Regions from separate parts of the Homo sapiens genome. Here region 1 is linked to region 2. The links are contacts of gene promoters, found by promoter capture Hi-C in blood cells and fetal thymus (Javierre and others, 2016). All regions are on one chromosome and are shown on one strand. Each heading gives the region's core, a stretch centred on a gene start or on the middle of the fragment in contact. The rest is flanking DNA. Distances are from core to core; before and after follow the strand shown.

The links. The method cuts DNA at HindIII sites, captures the fragments that hold promoters and counts their contacts. A CHiCAGO score of 5 or more calls a contact.
Region 1: a contact is called between a fragment that was not itself captured here and the fragment with the promoter of LINC00479 in region 2, in 1 of 17 cell types (M2 macrophages). The highest score is 12.3, in M2 macrophages.

Annotation. Positions count from the first base shown.
Region 1 is chr21:41,613,347-41,617,396 of GRCh38, reverse strand. No RefSeq gene overlaps it. Among named protein-coding and RNA genes, the nearest start is that of PCSEAT, 35 kb to the right of the region's middle. The HindIII fragment of the contact is 4,608 bases long and covers 441-4,050 here.
Region 2 is chr21:41,714,448-41,718,839 of GRCh38, reverse strand. It overlaps LINC00479 (long intergenic non-protein coding RNA 479), which reads left to right and starts at 3,065. Exons shown (of 6, transcript NR_027272.1): 1 at 3,065-3,098; 2 at 3,557-3,720. LINC00112 (long intergenic non-protein coding RNA 112) reads right to left here and starts at 2,404. Exons shown (of 3, transcript NR_024028.2): 1 at 2,296-2,404; 2 at 1,666-1,839; 3 at 1,258-1,498. The HindIII fragment of the contact is 7,368 bases long and covers 1,253-4,392 here.

The DNA of each region.
Region 1 (4,050 bases), core at 1,495-3,994, 100 kb after region 2:
AAATAGCATAATCCATCAAATTAAGCTTACATTGTTAATTTGAAATGTATTGGTGTTGTATTCTAATTTCATTGATAAATCTCTTTGATTTTTATTTACATAAGACCTATCATGGCTGGGTAATGTGCCACACACCTGTGGTCCCAGCTACTCAGGAGGCTGAGATGGGAGGCTTACTTGAGCCCAGGTGATTGAGGTTGTAATGAGCTGTGATCACACCACTGCACTCCAGCCTGGGCAACAAGCAAGACTGTCTCTAAAAAGAAAAGAAAAGAAAAGAAACAACAAAACAACAAAAAACTAAAAGAGCTATCAACGTAATATATTTGTAAGTCCTCTAGTGTTGCCACACATACAAGTAGCAGTAAAATAAAAATACTTTAACAAAAACTTAGGAGTCCACAGGATTTTTTTAAAAAGAGGATCTCTAAATGTAAGCTTGGGAAATGCTGGTTTAAGGCAGACTAAGCTGAAGGTTACACATCTCAGGCTTAGTCTGACTTGGAGAGGTGGGAAGTTTGTTGGAACTGGTGAGAGATCCCAGGAGCTGTGAGAATTCCCGCTCGCAGCTTTGACTGTAGCTCTGAACAACTTACTTCATTCACAGGATGGAGCCCAGGTGTATTAGGCAGTGAGTGGAGGAATCTAGTCTTCAGACGAGGGGCAGACCAGAGCTAGATTAGGGGCTCTTGGAATTATCCTCTTAGACCACTGAAGTGTAGGAAGGGAAGCCAAGGCACGTGGCCAGACCATGGCATTGGAGTGGGAGATGTCAGAGGGGACAGGGCTGTGACTCAGGAGTCATTCAGGCCCCACATCTGACCCCGTGGTCCCAGGAGGTCTGCCTGCTGACTGGGAGACCACTGCCCTGCCCAAGCGCTTTCTACCTTGGTCCTGAGGGCTCTGTCCTGGGGATGCTGCCAGAATCACAGGAGACTCTGTCCCGGAGGGCTGGGAAGGCAGCTGGCAACTGAACAGCCCATTGGCCATCCTGCCTGGCTGGACATGTGGGTTGTCTTTCATTTGTTATGACTAAGAATAGCACATTACCTCTTAAAAACTTTCCAGGCCTAGAAAATCTTCCCCACTCATTGGGGAGCAGGATGCTGGGCTCCTGATTAAATGCTTATCCTGGCACTTGAGCAGATTTGAATCTCTTTTTAAGGAATCTTTGGCCTTTCCCACAGGCAAGCTGCCCACAGCATGGGGAAGAGCGGCCGGTGCTCGCGTGAGGACGTCTCCAGCTCATCTGCTCCTGTATCTGAGAGCTGATGGCTGCTTTTGCATCTGCTTACTGGAACATTTTGCTTCCTTTATAATCAGCAACACAGAATATGGAATTGGCATCATTCTTGGGCTACATGGACTGATTTCTAGTTCCTGCCAAAAATATGTTTGAAACATCACTGAACAGACATTGTCTAAAAGTCTTGCTATCCATTTTTATTTTCCCAGTTTCATGTTGCTTCAAGTTAAAAATCATGAGAAAGCAGCAAACTGATTATTTTAGCTCCCCAAAATAAATTACTTTACTGAGTCATAAGTTAATGCAGTATCCTTGCATTCCATTTAGAGCCAGTATAAGAATGTTCCCCCAGTCTTCTGCCAAACCACACAGAAAGATGGAGTCTCAAATGAAAGTCTACGCAATATGCTTCTTCTGGATTGGCAACAACACAAAAGTGAGACATACACTCCCTTAGGCAGGCAGTGGGGAAACAGATACTTTCACATATTGCTGGCAGAGTACAAATTGGAGGCAAAGTGGCAATTTCCAGCAAAGCTATGAATGCATATCCACCTTTTGACCAGACGCTTATGCTTCTGGGAATCTGCCCTCCAGCTCTGTTTGCACATGTGCAAAATGATATTGTGCATGAGATGATTTCTTGTGGCATTTTAAATAATGGTGAAAGACTGGAAAGAAGCCAAATATTCCTTTTTCTTTTCTTTGAGACAGGGTCTTTCCCTGTTGCCCAGGCTGGAGCTGGAGTGCCATGGCAGGAGTCACAGCTCACTGAAGCCTCGAACTCACTGACTCAAGCAATCTTCTCACCTTAGCCTCCCAAGTAGCTGGGACTACAGGTGCGCACCAACACATTTGGCTAATTAAAAAAAATTCTTTAAAATATCTTTTAAGTACAGTGTCTTGCTATGTTGCCCAGTCTGGTCTCAAACTCCTGGCCTCAAATAATCTTCTGGCTTCAGCCTTCCAAAGTGCTGGGATTACAGATGTGAGCCCCTGGCCAGAAGCCAAATATTCTTAATAGAGGAGTAGCTAAACCTTTACAGAACTCCCCCACTATAAAATACTATTTACCTGTGAAAAATAATAAGGGGGTTCTCTATATGGATGAGCAGAATCATGGCCCCCAAAATGTGCCTGTTCTAATCTCTGGGACTTGTGAATATGTGACCTTATGTGGCAAAAGCCATTCTGTAAAGGTGATTTAGATCCAGATCTGCCTCACTCTGAAACCCCACTCCCCCACTGTGGCCCCGAGCCTGGCTAGAGATGCCGCCTGCTCCCTGTTGGACACGGTGGACCCGCCAGCATCCCCCTTGCCCACCCTGCACTGAGTGCGGGGGAGGAGGCTGCACAGACCACTCTGTGTCTTGCATTCCTGTCACTCCACCGTCACCCACACACGCAGGGCCTGAGGGCTGTTGGAATGCACCTGTTCATAGGCACATGCATTTATTTAACGGCTCTGTGCTAAAGTGTAGATGAGGAGAAGGAGTTTGTGCCAGGGTGTATCAGCTTCCTGCAAACGACCACAAACTCAGCAGCATGAACAGCATATTTAATGCATTGCTGGAGGTCGGGAGTCTGTGACGGGTCTCACTGGGCTAAGACCTAGGGCCGGCTCCTCCTGGAGGATCCAGGGCAGAATCTGTTCCTCGCCTTTCTCAGCTTCCAGGGGCTGTCCTCATTTCTAGGCCCATGGGCCCTTCCTCCCTCTTCAAAGCCAATGACGTTGGATCAGGTCCTCACTGCCACACTTCTGGCTGCTAGTTCCCTTTTAAGAACACTGTGAGGACTCTGGGCCTGCGGGATCCCCCAGGATCTCCTCCTTAGGTTAAGGGTGGTGTTCACCAATCCAGTTCCACCTGCAACCCCAACTCCCCTCTGCATGTGATATGATGCACTCACGGCGAATAGGGCTAGGGTGGAGGCATCTTGGTGGAATGGTGGGGTCTTCACTCTGCCTGCCACACAGGAAACAGGTGGCATCCAGGACATTCCAAGCCCCCACGCTTCCTAGAATAAGACCCAAACTCTACCCAGGGCCATGATGGCACTGCAAGGTTACAGGCCCGATGGCCCCTCTGCCCCAACCTGGGTCCCTGGGGGACTGGAAGGAGCCGAGCTCTTCCCCACTCAGGTCTCCTTTCCGCTGTCCTCTGTGGGGGCTCTGCTGCTCCTCCTCCGGTTTCAGGCCTCGCTCCTCCCACTGTCCCTCTCAGGTGTGCTCCCCGCTGGGGCTTCTCCCGTGGCCTCTGCTCCGTTGCAGTTCCCATCGCCTGGTTTACTGCCCCCTTTCCTGGATTATGTGCTCCCTCCCAGAGGCATCAACCACACCTGCCTGTCTCTCACCATGCTGTGCCAAGCACAGACGTCAGCCTGACCAGCACGGAACAGGCCACCAGACCGTAAAATCCATGGCAACAATCACACCACGCATTTCAATGGCCCATTCGAAATTTCCCCAGTGTAATCAGGCCATCTTGGCATGCGTCTGGCGGCAGAGACCAGGGAGGTTTGCAGCCGACACTCTCCACATATCAAGCTGAAGTGCCCGTGTCTCGGCGCAGGCTCTGTCGTCCGCCCGTCACACCGTGGCTTATCTTTTCGTGTGTCTTCTGGGTTGAGTTCATCAGTGCAGAGGCTAAGACTGGTCTGGTCTCCATGGAGTATCTAACCCTGTGCCTGGTCATAGCAGGGATTCAATAAGGCACGTGTGCGGAATGGATGAATGAGCGGATGAATGAACAGAAGGAGCGAGCTGATTTACAAAGAGTGGTAGGGAGGGGCCAGGGGAGCTTCCA
Region 2 (4,392 bases), core at 1,816-4,315:
GAGGCTGGGGCCAGCTGGCTCCCTTCTCAGGCCTTGTTCTCTTCTGCAAAATGAGGGGTTGGTCTTGATCATAATTACTCAAATTTAGTGTAGTAGATTGAGTAGTGGTCCCTCAAAAGATGTGTCCAAGCCCTACCCTCTGGTACCTGTGAAGGTGACCTATGTGGAAATAGGGTCTTTGCAGAGATAATTAAGAATCCCAGCCAGGCGTGATGGCTCTTACCTGTAATCCTAGTGCTTTAGGAGGCTGAGGCGGGCAGATCACTTGAGGTCAGGAGTTCAAGACCAGACTGGCTAAGATGGAGAAACCTTGTCTCTACTAAAAATACAAAAATTAGCGGGACGTTGTGGTGGACACCTGTAATCCCAGCTTCTCGGGAGGCTGAGGCAGGAGAATCTCTTGAACCCGGGAGGCGGAGGTTGCAGTGAGCTGAGATTGTGTTACTATACTCCAGCCTGGGTGACAGAGCCAGACTCCTTCTCAAAAAAAAGAAAAAAAAAGAAGAAGAATCTCGAGATGAGCTCATCTTGGATTCAGAGTGAGCCCTAAACCCAATGAATGGTGTCCTCATGAGATTAGCCAGACAGAAGGCAGGAGGGACAGACACAGGGGAGGAGAGCGCTGGGAGGATGGAAGTGGAGACTACAGAGAGGCTTCCATAGTCACGGGAGGCCAAGCATTGGCACGACCGTCAGAAGCTGGAGGCGGGCACAGAACAGACGTGTCCCCAGAGCCTCCAGGAGGAACCCACCCTGCCCACACCTTCCTTCCTGACTTGTGGGTTTGTGATACTTTGTTATGGCATCCACAGGGCACAAATCCTCCTGCAGAATTAAAGGAAAGATGCTCCTGCACGCTGTAAATGCTGATTAAAGCTACGTTTGCTTATAGCTCTTACAGAGTTATGAAGGCAAAGCAAATTTGTAAAGTTACAGCTCCAACACTGTAAAACCATTCAAACTAAAAACATGCTGTATGGGGACAGGTTCCACTGGGCTGCCTTGGCAGCCTGGGCTGAGGGGCCCAATGCTGGTGACTCACCTGCCCTCCCTCCCCTTTTCTCTCTGCCAAGCAGGAGCCACCTTTCTTCATGGCGGCCCTGCAGGCCCCAGGCTTGGTGTTGCGGGAAGAGCCTTTCATGAACAGGTCCATGTCGCTCTTTTCTCTCCAGCCCATGACAGAAGTGGAACACGGCCTGCACGGGTGGCACCAAGGCGGCATCATCAGGCTCTTCCCAATGTGAAGGAAGCTTTGACTCCATGGTGAACCCTTTATTGGGGGCTGACTCCAGGCCCGGCTATGGTTGTATTTTACAGAACTTGCTGGAGACACCTGTCTTGCTGGGCTGATGGATTCAGAACCAATGATGGGAACGGGGTCAGGTCCTCCGTCCAGTGAGTGAGGAGGGATTCCAGATGAGCCTCTGGACCCTCTTCCTATGCGCAGATGGCTTGTATCCTGAAGATGGAAACAGCCTGCTTCTTCACCGTCGAGACCCTGATGGAGGAAGGTGCTCCCCAGTGAGGCCGAGGGCCCCCTTTTCAGACATACAGTGGCACCTTGTTCCTCTGGGCTGGGTCTTTGCGGTAGGCCAGTGTTGTTGTCGTGGGCACCTAAGTTGTGGGCACTGGAGGGATGGAGGCCTTTAGGCTGCACCAAGTTACCTGCCTCGGCTTCTGGTTCCTCAACTATAAAACCAGATGGTCAGAGTAGGGAGCCTCGAGGGTCCCGTCCAGGTCTACAGGTGGATAACCTGTGCGCAGAGGCCACACTGTGAGAGAAGACCTGGTGGAGGATGTTTCCCGTGTCACAGCTGCAAGTAGGAAGAGTGTGAATCCCTGTGAATCGGCAGAGAAGAGCAAGGGGAGGGTTCAGGTGTAGGTGGGGGCGGGAGGGAGGATTAGGGGGAGGTGGTGTCAGTTTCCCAAGGCTGCTGTAATGAATATCCACAGACTTGGAGGCTTAAACAACACACACTGTCTTATGGTTCTCAAAATCAGAATGCTGAAATGGGTCTTGCGGGGTAAAATCTGTGAACAGTCATTTCTTCCCTCTCCAGGCCCTGATGGGGGAAGGGGCTCCTGGGCCAGTGTCAGCAGGGCCGGGTTCTTCTGGAGGCTCAGGGGAGAAGCTGCCTTCCTGTCTTTTCAGCTTCCAGAGGCCGCCTGCACGCCTCAGGGTCCCCGCAGCAGACCACATCACTCCAACCTTCGCTTCATCCTTGCATCTCCTCCTCCGCCTCCCTTCCTCCCTCTCATAAGGACCCTAGGATGACACTGGACCCCCCGACTGACCCAGGAGAATCTCCGCAACATGTGGGGAGGTGGAGTGATTGTGCAAAGCAGAGTGAGGTGGTGTTGCTGGAAGACTCGAATCACATCTGCAGGATCTCTGCGGAAGCTCTGGGGATAAGATTTGGCATCTTTGCAGTGGCCGTTATTCTGCCCACCGCAGGGGCCCCCATCTGATGATAGAGAAAAGGCACATAGAAGATGCTCGGAAACACGTGTTGAGTGAAAGAGTGAGTGGCTGTGTGGAGCCGAGACTAGGTTGGTCTGTGCAGGAGGTGTAACAAGAGCTGCATCTTGTATTTCTGCCTGCCTTCCTGCCTCTGCCATTGACTGGAGGTCAGCAGGTCTGACAGTTCCAGAAATAGAACTTCTGCTCTGATCTGATCCACACGAAGGTGAAGGTCAGGTGCAGGATCCTCCGCCCCCACCTTGTGGTTTCTGGGGGTGCTGAGCCAGGGCCCCACCTCTGCCCTGGGGGACACCCCCTGCCAAGTTTGCTTGGAGGCTCCTTTGAGCTCAGGCACGCCCAAGAGCCAGAAGGAGAGGACTTGTAAAGACAGGGACTGTAACCCCAGGCAGGCCTGTGTCCTGGCCCTTAGGGAAGGAATAATGAGTAGACTATTGTGTAAGAAAGATGAGAATCAGGCAGATAAAGGGCCCAGTGAAGCTGCCTGCCCCACTCCCTACCCCCAGGACTGAACCTTGGACCCCACCTAACATTCCAGCTCCACTGCGGTGCCCTGGTCTCCATGACAACCGGGAATCATTTTACAAATAGAAGATTGTGGATCCCTGGGAACGCAGAGGTGAGGAAGTCTCAGGAGTAAAGGTTTCATTTACGGCACCTTGGTGCGAAGGTGTCAGGCCAGGCCTTGGAGCCAAATTCTATGCAGAATGACCAAGTGCCGAGAGCAGAAAACACGGGCTATGTTCCTGACCCTTTGCCTGTTAGCCGTGTGGCTCTGGTTCTGGAGTGAAGGGAGCAGCAGGATGCTCTGGGCCTTAAGTGACAGAATTCCTAACTCTCTGAGACCAGAGCAAGGCTTTGGAAAGGCTGGAGGGAAGCCATTAAGTCGGTGAGGTTTTCCTGGCTTGCCCCATGGAGGCAAGATGGCTGCAGGGACTCCAGGCATCACGTCCATTGAGGACAACATCCAATGCACAAAGGAGGGCAGGTGGCAAAGGGGCTTCTCCTCTCACAGCTCTTTATCACAAACTGCTGCCTCCTCCAGCATCCCTCAAAGACCGCTTTGTTTCCCATCAGCAGGAATGCGTGGCAGGAAGGAATCTCCCAGGGATTCACAGTTCACCCCTAAATCAATCCGTGGGGCCCGAGGGGCAAAGTATCTGAGTGACCCAGCCCTCAGTCTTGTGTCCGTTCCTGAGAAGGAGCTCAGCCTTGCCCCTCAGGAGCTGCATGTACCAAATGTGAGTGTGTGTGTGCCTGAGTGTGCCTCTTCACCTCAGTGAGTGTGTCCATGTGTGAAAGCAGATGTTTGTATGTGCACAGGTGTGTGCTGTGTGCATACAAAGCGGGGGCAGGGCATGTGGGGATGTTGTACCTGAGCGAGTTAGAAAAACGCCACACTTTGAGATGAATTAGGAGTCCTCTATTAGCTGGCAACCAAGAGACAGCTAACGCTCAAAATTCTCTTGGCCCCGAGGAAGGGGCTTGATTAACTTTTACATCTTGGTTTAGGAAGGGGAGGGGGGTCTAGTTAGAACAATTTTACAGAAGTTAAGTAGTCAAAAAGTTAAAAGGACAAATGGTTACAGGAAAGTAAACAGTTCCAGGTGCAGGGGCTTTAAGACTATTACAAGGTGATAGACGCGGGGCTTCGGGCGTTATCATTCGGACAAATTCCTGGGAACTGCGGATCTAGCTCGCCACAGTATCTTATCAGTTAACTGCATTCTTGGATGTGCTGGGAGTCAGCTTGCACAAGTTAAGTCCTTGAGGAAGGGGCTGCCGGTGAAAGAGCCAAGATGGAGTTTGTGTGACTCTCTCAGCTAAGGGAGAAGCAAGGCTAGGTGAATAAAGGAAAAACAAGGTTGGGCATTACACGGAGGTGGAGTGATTGTGTAAAGCAGAGTGAGGTG